Regions from separate parts of the Homo sapiens genome. Here regions 1 and 2 are each linked to region 3. Evidence: promoter capture Hi-C in 16 types of primary human blood cells and fetal thymus (Javierre and others, 2016). All regions are on one chromosome and are shown on one strand. The core of a region is centred on a gene start or on the middle of the fragment in contact, and the rest is flanking DNA. Distances in the headings are between cores, read along the strand shown. Region 1 overlaps STC1 (stanniocalcin 1). Region 2 has its middle 89 kb from the start of NEFL. Region 3 holds the start of ADAM7-AS2 (ADAM7 antisense RNA 2).

Region 1 (4,135 bases), core at 229-2,728, 670 kb after region 3:
CCTTTAGGTCTTTAGTCCGGGGGACTTGGGGCTGAGAGAGTATAAATAACCCTGGGCTGTCCAGCCTTAATAGACTTCTCTTACATTTTCGTCCTGTAGCACGCTGCCTGCCAAAGTAGTCCTGGCAGCTGGACCATCTCTGTAGGATCGTAAAAAAATAGAAAAAAAGAAAAAAAAAAGAAAGAAAGAGGGAAAAAGAGCTGGTGGTTTGATCATTTCTGCCATGATGTTTACAAGATGGCGACCACCAAAGTCAAACGACTAACCTATCTATGAACAACAGTAGTTTCTCAGGGTCACTGTCCTTGAACCCAACAGTCCCTTATGAGCGTCACTGCCCACCAAAGGTCAATGTCAAGAGAGGAAGAGAGGGAGGAGGGGTAGGACTGCAGGGGCCACTCCAAACTCGCTTAGGTAGAAACTATTGGTGCTTGACTCTCACTAGGCTAAACTCAAGATTTGACCAAATCGAGTGATAGGGATCCTGGTGGGAGGAGAGAGGGCACATCTCCAGAAAAATGAAAAGCAATACAACTTTACCATAAAGCCTTTAAAACCAGTAACGTGCTGCTCAAGGACCAAGAGCAATTGCAGCAGACCCAGCAGCAGCAGCAGCAGCACAAACATTGCTGCCTTTGTCCCCACACAGCCTCTAAGCGTGCTGACATCAGATTGTTAAGGGCATTTTTATACTCAGAACTGTCCCATCCCCAGGTCCCCAAACTTATGGACACTGCCTTAGCCTCTTGGAAATCAGGTAGACCATATTCTAAGTTAGACTCTTCCCCTCCCTCCCACACTTCCCACCCCCAGGCAAGGCTGACTTCTCTGAATCAGAAAAGCTATTAAAGTTTGTGTGTTGTGTCCATTTTGCAAACCCAACTAAGCCAGGACCCCAATGCGACAAGTAGTTCATGAGTATTCCTAGCAAATTTCTCTCTTTCTTCAGTTCAGTAGATTTCCTTTTTTCTTTTCTTTTTTTTTTTTTTTTTTTTTGGCTGTGACCTCTTCAAACCGTGGTACCCCCCCTTTTCTCCCCACGATGATATCTATATATGTATCTACAATACATATATCTACACATACAGAAAGAAGCAGTTCTCACAATGTTGCTAGTTTTTTGCTTCTCTTTCCCCCACCCTACTCCCTCCAATTCCCCCTTAAACTTCCAAAGCTTCGTCTTGTGTTTGCTGCAGAGTGATTCGGGGGCTGACCTAGACCAGTTTGCATGATTCTTCTCTTGTGATTTGGTTGCACTTTAGACATTTTTGTGCCATTATATTTGCATTATGTATTTATAATTTAAATGATATTTAGGTTTTTGGCTGAGTACTGGAATAAACAGTGAGCATATCTGGTATATGTCATTATTTATTGTTAAATTACATTTTTAAGCTCCATGTGCATATAAAGGTTATGAAACATATCATGGTAATGACAGATGCAAGTTATTTTATTTGCTTATTTTTATAATTAAAGATGCCATAGCATAATATGAAGCCTTTGGTGAATTCCTTCTAAGATAAAAATAATAATAAAGTGTTACGTTTTATTGGTTTCCCCCCATGTCTTTCATTGTTATTCTTGAAAAACTTATTGAATGAGAATTTCTGAACATGAACCACAGACTGGTTGGTTTCTTTAAAGTCACTAATTGTCAATATGTAAATTTGACATATTGTTTAAGTCAACATTTCCTAAGTTTTTTAAAAAACATTGAGTGACTCCCATTATTCTCACTGATGGTATCCCAAACTCCTTACAAAGTTGGAAGAAGCTTTAAGGTCTACAGGCTGCTCAACTGTAAGACCCAACTTTCTTTCTGTTCAGTGACCTCTACGCTCCCACCACATAGGCAGTTCTGGGAATGATTGGGATCTGTCCCTTCCAGGTCTTTTATTTATGCTATTGTCTCTTTTTGGAAGATTTTTTTTCTCCATCCTTCACTCAGACTGAAAGCATGATGGGGAGAAGCGCGTGCTTGGTCACCAGTGTGTTCCCAACGCTAAAATAGCATCTTCAATACTTTAAATGAATGATTTAGAAAGAGTTGGAGGAGGGGGAAAAAGACAACTGAATCAGTGTGACAAGGAAGGCAGATAGCTCTGCAGTTAAAACAAAAGATTTGAATTCAGTCTCTGTCACTCATTAACCACATGATGTCAGAAGAGTTTCTTAATCTCAAAACACATCAATTTCTCCCTCCGTAAAATGGGGATTGTGACAGTCATCTCACAGAGCTGCTACAGGGAAATAAAACAAGTGAACTGCTTACAATATTCCCAATATACGATTATGCTCAACGAGGGTCAGCTGTTATCATACAAGTTGCGACAATGAGAGCAAAAGCTCCCTATCTCAGAAAATGGTCAAAGACTTCACAACAGAATGACAGCTGGGTCTTGAAGGATGCTTATGAGTTTGGTCACATAAAAAGGGGAGCTTCGGTGGTATAATTTTTTTCAAGAGACACCTTATATAAGAGACACCTTTAATTGTGAAGGTTATCTTCACAATTAAATATTAGTGAATTTTTCCCATATTTTAAATTCAAATGGGGGCATTTTTCTCAACATCATTCATTTCTAGCTCCAAATTGCATTTTCCCAAGTTCAGTTATGCCCAAAGCAACTAATAAATAGTACATGAATTGTCACTTAAGGGCCAAATACGTACTGCACTTGCTTTACTCTGACCTGGCCAAGGAAAAAGAGCACATTTCTTTTATTATTATCCTTCATCCATAGTCTCCTATAAATATTTATTTATACAGAGAGACTGCATGCTGCACTGTAGTATAGTGTTTAAAAAAAAAAAAACAGACCTGGGATTTGTATAAACTGAGTTTAAACCTTAGTTCCTCTACCATTTCTGTGGCCTTGGGCCAAGTGTCTCATATCTTCACACTTTAGTTTTTTTCATTTATGAAAATGCCCCTACAAAATAGGGACAAATAGTAGGCCTTAGTTCCAAAAGTAACTGAGAATTCAATGTGTTACATATAAAGGACTTAAAATAGTGTCTACCATATAGCAAGTACCCAAAGAATAGAATTCCTCGAGCCCTCAATACATGTAACTCTCACCATTTACATTAAAGTTATTCCCATCACTTAGATTCTACTCTCACCCTCACTGTGAGTATTGAGGTACCATTTTGGATGAAGAATGTTTTTCTGACTTTTTCCTTTTGTAGGTCACCAAACATTATTATTTAATTAAGATTTTATAAATCTGTTTTTTTGTTTGTTTGTTTGAGACAGAGTCTCACTCTGTCACCCAGGCTAGAGTGCAGTGGTGAGATCTCAGCTCACTGCAACCTCCGCCTCCCGGGTTCAAGCGATTCTCCTGCCTCAGCCTCTGGAGTAGCTGGAATTACAGGTGCCCACCACTATGCCCAGCTAATTTTTGTAGTTTTAGTAGAGAAAACTGCTAATCTGAGCAACAAAAGACTCACCAACAAACATGGTTAGATATTAGCCTGACCTATGCAAAGCATTGTGTTAGAGAGCTAGAACACAGAGAGACTATATCCACCTGCAAGTCAAGCTCCATCATATTTCCTGTATCCTTAGCTATTTTGTCACATAGTCATTCTTCTAATACCCCTCTGCTCACTAATTCTTCTTCCCTATGCTCAAGCTCTACCACAAACTGCAATCCTCATGACCCTTTGATTTGATTTTTTTTACCTCAAAGAAGAACTTGAGAACCTAGGTGAGACACTGCTTAAGCCTATCCTACCACCCTACTGTAAAATCTAAAGAGCAATGCACATCGCTCCATTTATAAATAACTAATTAAAGCCTGATTATTAAATAAGTGTCAACTAAGTACCAGTATGCTTCTCAACACTATGCCTGTATGACCCACAGCATACTAAGCTGAGAACTCACTGATTCCAATCCTTATCTGCCAATTAAATACATCTCTGCTCCCCCTCAGGACTAAGGGATCTGTGGCTTCCACTTGAGGACAGAATGTTGTTCTTAACTCCAGCACAATTAAGTCACACTGCAGGTGTCCTCTGCTATAGGAAAACCAGACACAGTATATGTCCCGCAAGAGACTAGCTGTCTCCAACATGTGGTCACAGTCCTGGAACCAATTCCAATGACAGCCCACTCACTTGTCCT
Region 2 (4,052 bases), core at 979-3,478, 530 kb before region 3:
CTTCCCTATCATTAGGCTGTTTTGCATTTGTAATATAAGATTTTGGCTTAACTAAACGTAAAAGCCGAGAGGATAAAGAGAAAAATGCAAAGTGTTATGGCTTTAGTGAATCTTCTATTCAAAGAGATAATCATTTAATGGAAGATAGAAGATGGGAAACACCAATGCTTCCACATCCCCCTTACAATCCCTCGGAAAAAGTTGCTCGTTGAAGGCACCCTTTCCTGAAAAGCCTCAGAGTCTTTCTTGACCCTGCACACTTTGTAGCCACAACCAACTTCTCAGAGTTGGCACATGCAATAAAGCCACTTTGTTAACCTTAATTAAATAATTTCGCTGAAGCTGCATGGGTTGATTTCAAGTGTCCGCTTTCAGACCACTCAGGGCATCACTAGTACCTTTCATCAAGGTAGCAGCAGTACATAAAGCAAACAATTGATTGCACCAGACAAGCATGGACCCATATTGTGATTTGCTAATTGTTGTGATTTGCTAATGTCCTGCTATTGGATTTGTTTCATAGAGATAATTATACTTATTTGTTGGAGCCCTCAAACTACTTTGTAAACAAATAAACAACACTTGTTCAGTGTTTATAATTCTGCTTTTTGCCTTCAACTGTTCTCCTCTAGAGTCTGAATCTCACAAGTTAGACTCTTGGCACCACCAGCTTAGATTATTACCAAGTCTATAGTCCCAAATGGAAATGTCTCCTCCCAAAGGGGACAACCAGTTGCATGTGACGTTCTTCACAATGTCTAAAATAAGGTGGTGTCTTGGTCTATTTGGGCTGCTATAAAAAAAAGTCTTAGACAGGGTCATTTGCAAATAACAAAAGTTTATTTCTTGGCCAGGTGTGGTGGCTTGCACCTGTAATTCTTGCACTTTGGGAGGCCAAGGCAGGAGGATCACTTGAGTCCAGGAGTTCGAGACCAGCCTGGGCAACAAGCAAAACCCATCTCTACAAAAAATACAAAAGTTAGCCAGGCATCATGGCCCATGCCTGTAGTTCCAGCTACTCAGGAGGCTGAGGTGGGAGGATTGCTTGAGCTCAGGAAGTCGAGGCTGCGGTGAGCCATGATGGCATCACTGCACTCCAGCCTTTCTGACAGTGTGAGACCTTGTCTCAAAAAAAAAAATTTTTTGTTTGCAGTTCTAAAGGCTGAGCAGTCTAAGATCAAAGTGCCAGCCGATTTGGCGTCTGATGAAGGCCTGTTCCTCACAGACAGCACCTTCTTGTTGTGTCTTCACATGGTTCAAGAGGTGAACACACTCCCTCAAGCCTCCATTTTTTTTTTTTTTTTTTTTTTTTTGAGACGGAGTCTCGCTCTGTTGCCCAGGCTGTAGTGGAGTGCAGTGGCGCGATCTCAGCTCACTGTAAGCTCTGCCTCCTGGGTTCAGGCCATTCTCCTGCCTCAGCCTCCTGAGTAGCTGGGACTACAGGTGCCTGCCACCATGCCCAGCTAATTTTTTTGTATTTTTTAGTAGAGACGGGGTTTCACCATATTAGCCAGGATGGTCTCGATCTCCTGACCTCGTGATCCACCCACCTCAGCCTCCCAAAGTGATGGGATTACAGGCATGAGCCACCGCGCCTGGCCCTCAAGCCTCTTTTTTAAGGGCACTAATCCCATTCATGAGGGCTCCACCCTCGTGACCTCATCAGTGCATAAGGCCCCACCTCTTAATACTATTACATTGGGGATTAGGTTTCAACATACGAATTTTGGGGCCACACAAACATTCAGACCATAGCATTGGGTCTCTGAGCTCCCATTCTCAAATCTACACTTGATTGACATGGTTTATGCTGAAGGGTATGCCTATCTCTCTTCCTGTCTCATTCTTCACTTTTAACCCTTGACATCTGGGTCCCAGTTCTGACACCGTATTATAGCAGCTCTTCTGGAGGACACCAGTGGTGCTTTATAAATCAATCTATTCTTAACTCTTAATTATCTTGAATTTTGGCTGAATCTGACACTATTGATTCTTCCTCCTTTCCCACAGCCCTTACACACCTCTCGCTACTCCCTGTCTCTGTGAAACTCTATCCTCCTTTGGCTCTCATTACATTTCACTCTTTCAGTTTTCCCACTATTATTCTGACTGTTCCCTCAGTCCCCTGAACTGATTCTTTGCTCTTCCTTCTTGGTCTGAGGATGCTTGTTTCATTCTCATGACTTCAGTTGTCATTGCTACTCTATTGACCCTAAAATGTATAAGTTGTGTTTCAAATGTGTAGATACATTCTATTCCATCACAGAGCAACATATTGAATACCCACCTTTAGACACTCCTGTATCTCCAAGTCAGTTTTCCTATCCAAACCTTCATTTTTATCTTTAAGAGTCTGTGGGTTGTTTCACTTGCAATGTTCAAGGCACCCCAATCCAATATGACTGTACTCATTACCTTCTTCTCCCAAAAAGATCCAGTCTCTTCCTTTCCACTGTTAGTGGCATCATCATTTTGCAAGTTACTCAGATTTAATGATGTAAAACATCCTATGACATAAGCCTACATTTCCTTCACAATTTCTTGTATCCACAGCTTCCCCAACCCATTTCCATTTGTTGATTTTCAGGCCTTCTGACCACTTGCCCAAATTGCTGTAACTTTCATGCTGCCCTAGCAGATTGTTGCCTCTTTTTCTCTCATCTACCTAAACACATTGCTATGATTTCAACATGTCCCCCAGAATCCATGTGTTGGAAACTTAATCCCCAGTGCAACAGTAGTGGGAGGTGAGACCTAATGGGGATGCTTAGGTCATAAGGTGCTGCCCTTATGAGTGGATTAGTGCCATTATGAAAGAGGCTTATAGAAGTGGGTTTGCTCTGCTGAGTGCCTCCTCTTCCACCTTCTCCCACATAATGATGCAGCAGAAAGGCTCTCCCCAGGTGCTGGTACCTTAATCTTGGACTTCCCAGCCTCCAAAACTGTGAGACAACAAATTTCTCTTCATTATAAAGTACCGTTTCTCAGGTATTCTGTTATAGACTGAGACACACATGTTACACCATGTCTATTCCCCAGCAAAGGACATTTAGGAGATCTGTATGTATTATTGCTTTATTATTTCATGCCAAAGTGTCACACTCTGCTGTTTAAGACCATTTCCAACATTATTGGACAATGTTGACAATGTTGTCAATGTTGTCAACCTTTCCAACCTTATTTACCACTCTCCCTCAACTTGCATCATCTGACTTAGTCAAGTGGCCTCACTGCTCCACTCACTCTCCATGCTCAGTTCTACCTCCATGTTGTGTAATGACATCACTTGCACCTAGAGTGTCCCTTCACTGTTGTCCACCTAGTCAAATTCTAATCATCATCTAAGGTTTTGTTCACATGTCGCTTCTCCTGTGAAAACTTTACTGATTATTCCCACTCTATTTATTGTTGGTACTGTGCAATTAATCACTAATTATTCTCTCGCTTATGTTTGGTAGTTTTATCTCTCATTTTAATTATAAATTCCTTGTGGGAGGGGTCCTTTCATCTAGTTCTCGCACTCCCCATGGAGCTCAGCATAGTTTTAGAAAATAATATGTGTTCAATAAATCTTTCATTGATTTACTACTCCTTAATTTAACAAACACTCATTTGACTGAATAAATTGTTGGGTGAATAAATCGAAGTTTGGCTGATTGATTGGTTCTGTTTATTGAATCCATTCAATATTGTGCTCAGTTTTCTGCACTCTAATTTGGGCAGTGAGGGATGCTTAATATTTTATTTCCTTCCACCTCTAAACAATTCCTAGAATGGACTCCCATAAATAAATTTTTGGGATCAAAATATGTCTTCAGTCACTTCCAGGTGCAATTTTAGGGAGCAGAATTTTAGTATCTGTGTGTTAAGGACAGAGCAAGCCAAATGATTTTTGCATTGAAACATCGAAGAGACAGTATAAATCTTAATGAAAAGGTAACTTAAACTCTGGCTCTCTTCCTTGAAGTGACATATTAAACACCAGATCATTTTTTCTCTCTTTTTTTAAATTTTTATTTATTTATTTTTTTGAGATGGAGTCTCATTCTGTT
Region 3 (4,466 bases), core at 1,015-3,514:
CTTGCTTCAGGGGACCTTAACTTTCTTCCTTGAGAGGCCTGTATTGGGGCTTAGAGTGAAAGTCACAGAGGGGCTTATTCAGGAGAGCCATAAAGTCTTTGGGGTTTGTAGAGAATTTTTGGAATAGCCTAATAGTCTTTATCTCACCAATGAGTCTGCAGATGAGCAGGGACCATGTACTACATAAGAAGCTAGGAGAGTTGGGTCCTGTTTACACAATTATCCACATCTTGTTTATTTTCCACTAGCTGTTTAACTTCATTGGGCTTTGTTTTCAAAACCTATAAAAGGAACACGTTTCTTTTAAATCTAAAACAATATTTGATAAACCTACACTGTACTATATACCCTCTGCTCCTAGTCCAAAGTTCTAGATAGTCAACTGTTAACACAATAACTGAGTAAAATTGAATGCGTATTTTTAAGTAATTTTTTTAGGAAAACTTATCTGAGTATTTCTTAGTATACTTGTTTTTTTAGATTTTTTGGTTGATATACGTGTACATATTTTCAGGATACATTAGTAGGGTGTCTACACTTAACATTCATCAATTGTACATTTCAAAGTAGCTGGAAAAAAATAACTTGAGTGTTCCTCGCATTAAAAAAAGACAATATTTAAGATGATAGGTATCTCAGTTACCCCAATTTGATTACATAAACTTACCAGTATACTTTTATTGTTATATTAATTCACTATATTTATTTACATAAGAAAGTTAAAAATGCATCAAACTTAAGCTCCATTGTCATCTCCAATCTAACCTGCTTCTCTCTTACTTTCTTTTCTTGGTTAAGGAACCCATAAAACTTCATCTACACAAATCAGAAACATGGAAGACAGCATCAACTCTGCCCTTGACCTCATCCCTGTTCCCTTATCCAATCAAAAAAGAACTTCTTATAGCCCTCCTTTAATCTATGTTTCTACTACTCCAGTCTCTCTGAGGTTTCATATCTTCTAACTTGGACAGTACAGTAGCCTTCTTTTATCCAACCTTCAAAATCATGCAGTTCTCCCCCCTAAAACACAAATTTTACCTTGTTACTTTCATTTAAGTTATTTTACCAAGTCATTTGCCTTTAAGATATCCACACCATGCCAGGCACAGTGGCTCATGCCTGTAATCCCAGCACTTTGGGAGGCTGAGGCAGGCAGATTACTTGAGGCCAGGAGTTTGAGACTAGCCTGGCCAACATTGTGAAACTCTGTCTCTACAAAAAATTAAAAAATTACCTGGGCATGGTGGCACACGTCTGTAGTCCCAGCTACTCAGGAGGCTGAGGCAAGAGAATTACTTGAACCCAGGAGGCAGATGTTGCAGTGAGCCGAGATCATGCCCCTGCTCTTCAGCCTGGGCCATGTAGCAAGACCTTGTCTCAAACAACAACAGATAACCACAGCATAGAATATCCAATGCAGCCTGTCTTTAATGTCCTCTCATACCATGCTTTCCTATATACCTCATGATATAACTACACTAACCTACTTTCTGTGATCAGACCTACCAAACTCAGGTATGCTTAGACTCGCTGCTTCTCCCTGGAATGTTAATTCTCTGCTTGGCAAACCCTTGTACCTTTGTTAAGACCTTGATTAAAAGTTACCTCTCTGACGCCTTCTCCATTCCAACAAGCATTAGAAGCCTCCTCTTCATTCCCCTGGGCAATTTCACCTACTGCCTTCCTCTTTGGTGCCATGTATCACATTAATTTATTTTTCTAATTTTTTTCCAGAATTTCATTTTTCATGTATATGTGGCAATGTATTTTATTTTTAAACTTTTAATTTTTAATTGTTGTGGGTACAGAGTAGGTATATATATTCAGAGGATACATGAGATGTTTTGATACAGACATCACATAATTTATGACCATCCATTTAGAAGCCTGTTTTGCTTGCTCACAAAGCTTGGTTTTCTCAGGGCAGGGCTGTGTACACCTACATATCTACATGTCCCTAGAATAATACCTCTAACACAGCCAGTATGCGATGAGTACATGTTGAACAAAGACGTTAATGGATAAGTAAATAGAACCTACATGGCATCAGTCCACATTCGTTTTTTACTTTTCTAAGTTTTTTCCCCTCTGAAATCTGTAAGTGTGCTTAATCTCTGCCTCTGCTTTTTTGTTATTGTTTCTGTTTAGAGGAGTCACAGAGGGATCCTAGTGAAGAGGATTATAACTTTGCCTGTTTTGTGATGCGGAGGTGATGTCATGTTGTTCTACCATTTTATCATTGTTCCTTCTGAGCCTGAGTGTTCTTTCTCTTGAAGATTCAAGTGAACCAGGGAAGGAGAATGACATCAGACTGGGCTTGTGCCTGATAATTCATTTCTGAAGGTGCAATATTAAGTGTCACAGTGTCCAGCTGGTGATATTTTCAGCATAGAAACCTGTTAGACACGGCAGCATTAAGGAGATGGAATGAATTGATTTATTTCTCTTCTGAATTGCTTGGCAGTGCTTCAAGATTGACGCATCAGATTTGCACAATGTGCCACTTTAGGAGATTATTTCTTCCTTCCTTCAGCCAGACAGAAGACTGCAGTAGGTAATGATAGCTTAAACTTGGGAAATGTCCTTCTTCAGAGACAGCGTCACGGACATTTTGGAGAGGATCAGATTACTCTACAGCTGCTTTCCCTGGTGGACCTGAGGAGGCACACCCCTGAGCCAGGACTTTAAGGGAGAGGGTAGAACAACCTAGAAGCTCAGAAGGTCACTCCAACTATTATCTTCCCTTCTGTGACTTATTGACATACACTTTGATATCAAGGCACTGATGCTGATAACGTGAGAGAAAGGAATAGATTAATTATGGGATGAGGAGTATTTTAAATGCTAAAGGCTTTGTCTAAAATAATTCACATTTTTCCATCCAGTGGTTCCTCTCTTTGAATCCTGTTAGAATGACAGTAGATCTTTTAATTCTTTCCCCACTTTAGGCATGACTTTGAAGAACCTGAAGATGTGAAAATGAAATGGATACTGTGCTCCTTTTGGCTAGGATTGGGGAGGGCCCACTAACTGATCTCTACTACCCAGCCCCTTTCAACATCAAAGCTACTTTTTTTTTTTTTTTGAGACAAAGTCTGGCCCTGTCGCCAGGCTGGAGTGCAGTGGTGCAGTCTCAGCTCACTGCAACCTCTGCCTCCTGGATTCAAGGGATTCCCCTGCCTCAGCCTCCCGAGCAGCTGGGACTACAGGTGCATGCCACCATGCCTGGCTAATTTTTTGTATTTTAGTAGAGACGGGATTTCACTTTGTTGGCCAGGATGGTCTCAATCCAAAGCTACTTTTAGCAGGATTGAACTCTGAGGTCATCCAGTGGCCAGTTGTGATGCTGTCACTTTTAAAACTGGAATGAGTTACTGTTCGGATGGTGGCTTTGGTCTGAGGCCTGTGATTCCTGTTTTGCCATTTCTTGGCTGTGTGTTTGAGGACCTCTTAATCCCTAGCCTCCTCATTTGTAAAATAATCCTTCCCATGGACCTTGTGCATTTCATGGAAATGCAGTAGTATGGGGTCTGGAAGATTCTTTGTAGGCATTCTACCTTTCCCTATGTGTTCCAAGTGACCCTCATCTGGTGCATTCTTCATTTGATTAAAGCAAGGAAGGAAGCTTTAGCAGAGGGCTGTTATCTCTTGATTGGCCGCTGCCATCCCCTGACCCACCGTCTTCCCTTTTATGCACAGTGATGGCAGAGACAGCAACAGACAGCTTGCCCAAACACACTAAGCTGAATTAAAGCACCACCCAAGTAGAGGTCTATTCTATTAAGAAGGGATCATCCAGAAATTGAGGTCACTATAACACAAGGGAAAGATTCAAGGATCCCAAAGTGTCTGCTAGGAAGTGGCCAATGAGGGCTTCAAAGAGTGTTTAAGTTTTAGTCCATCCCCAAATACAGTTCTTCCTTGGACAAAAACATCTCAGCCATGCTCTGGCTGAATTGGGAGGTGACAGCTGCCTAGCTTTGCGCTTCCTACCTGATATGTTAACTCACGCACCATTATACTGTGGTTGGGAAGTATGGTGGATGGTAGATGGAAGACGAGAATGGGAGTGAGATATTTACACAGTTCTGAATTTTGGGGGTGAGGGCTGTGCATTCTTCCTGTCAAAGTTGTATTAATATCAGTAGCATAATAATGATTAAAAGCATACTCTTTGGAGTTAGACTTCCTGGCTTAGAATTGTGACTATACTAGTTAATCAGTTGTCTCTTTTGGCAAATTATTTGACTTTTTTCATATCAGTTTTCCAAGCTGTAAAATGAAAATAGTAATAGTATTTAACTCATTGTTTTAAGTTAAATGAAATAATACGTATGAAGTGCTTAGAATAATCTCTGACAAATAGTGTCCACTCACGAAATGCTGTTTGTTCTAGCTGCTGTAGTAGCATATCTCTCGTATCCTTGGGCAAGAGACTTTGGCTTTTGAATTTACTTATCTAA

The links. Contacts are between HindIII fragments. The CHiCAGO score rates a contact against its expected background, and 5 or more counts as called.
Region 1: a contact is called between a fragment that was not itself captured here and the fragment with the promoter of ADAM7-AS2 in region 3, in 1 of 17 cell types (total B cells). The highest score is 5.9, in total B cells.
Region 2: a contact is called between a fragment that was not itself captured here and the fragment with the promoter of ADAM7-AS2 in region 3, in 1 of 17 cell types (megakaryocytes). The highest score is 5.4, in megakaryocytes.

The regions. Positions count from the first base shown.
Region 1 is chr8:23,839,346-23,843,480 of GRCh38, reverse strand. It overlaps STC1 (stanniocalcin 1), which reads left to right. Exons shown (of 4, transcript NM_003155.3): 4 at 1-1,552. Among named protein-coding and RNA genes, the nearest start is that of STC1, 13 kb to the left of the region's middle. The HindIII fragment of the contact is 603 bases long and covers 1,177-1,779 here.
Region 2 is chr8:25,043,978-25,048,029 of GRCh38, reverse strand. No RefSeq gene overlaps it. Among named protein-coding and RNA genes, the nearest start is that of NEFL, 89 kb to the right of the region's middle. The HindIII fragment of the contact is 5,359 bases long and covers 1-4,052 here.
Region 3 is chr8:24,512,666-24,517,131 of GRCh38, reverse strand. ADAM7-AS2 (ADAM7 antisense RNA 2) reads left to right here and starts at 2,264. Exons shown (of 5, transcript NR_125809.1): 1 at 2,264-2,346; 2 at 2,468-2,557. The region is part of intron 1 of ADAM7-AS1 (ADAM7, ADAMDEC1 and ADAM28 antisense RNA 1); the gene reads left to right. The HindIII fragment of the contact is 1,717 bases long and covers 1,914-3,630 here.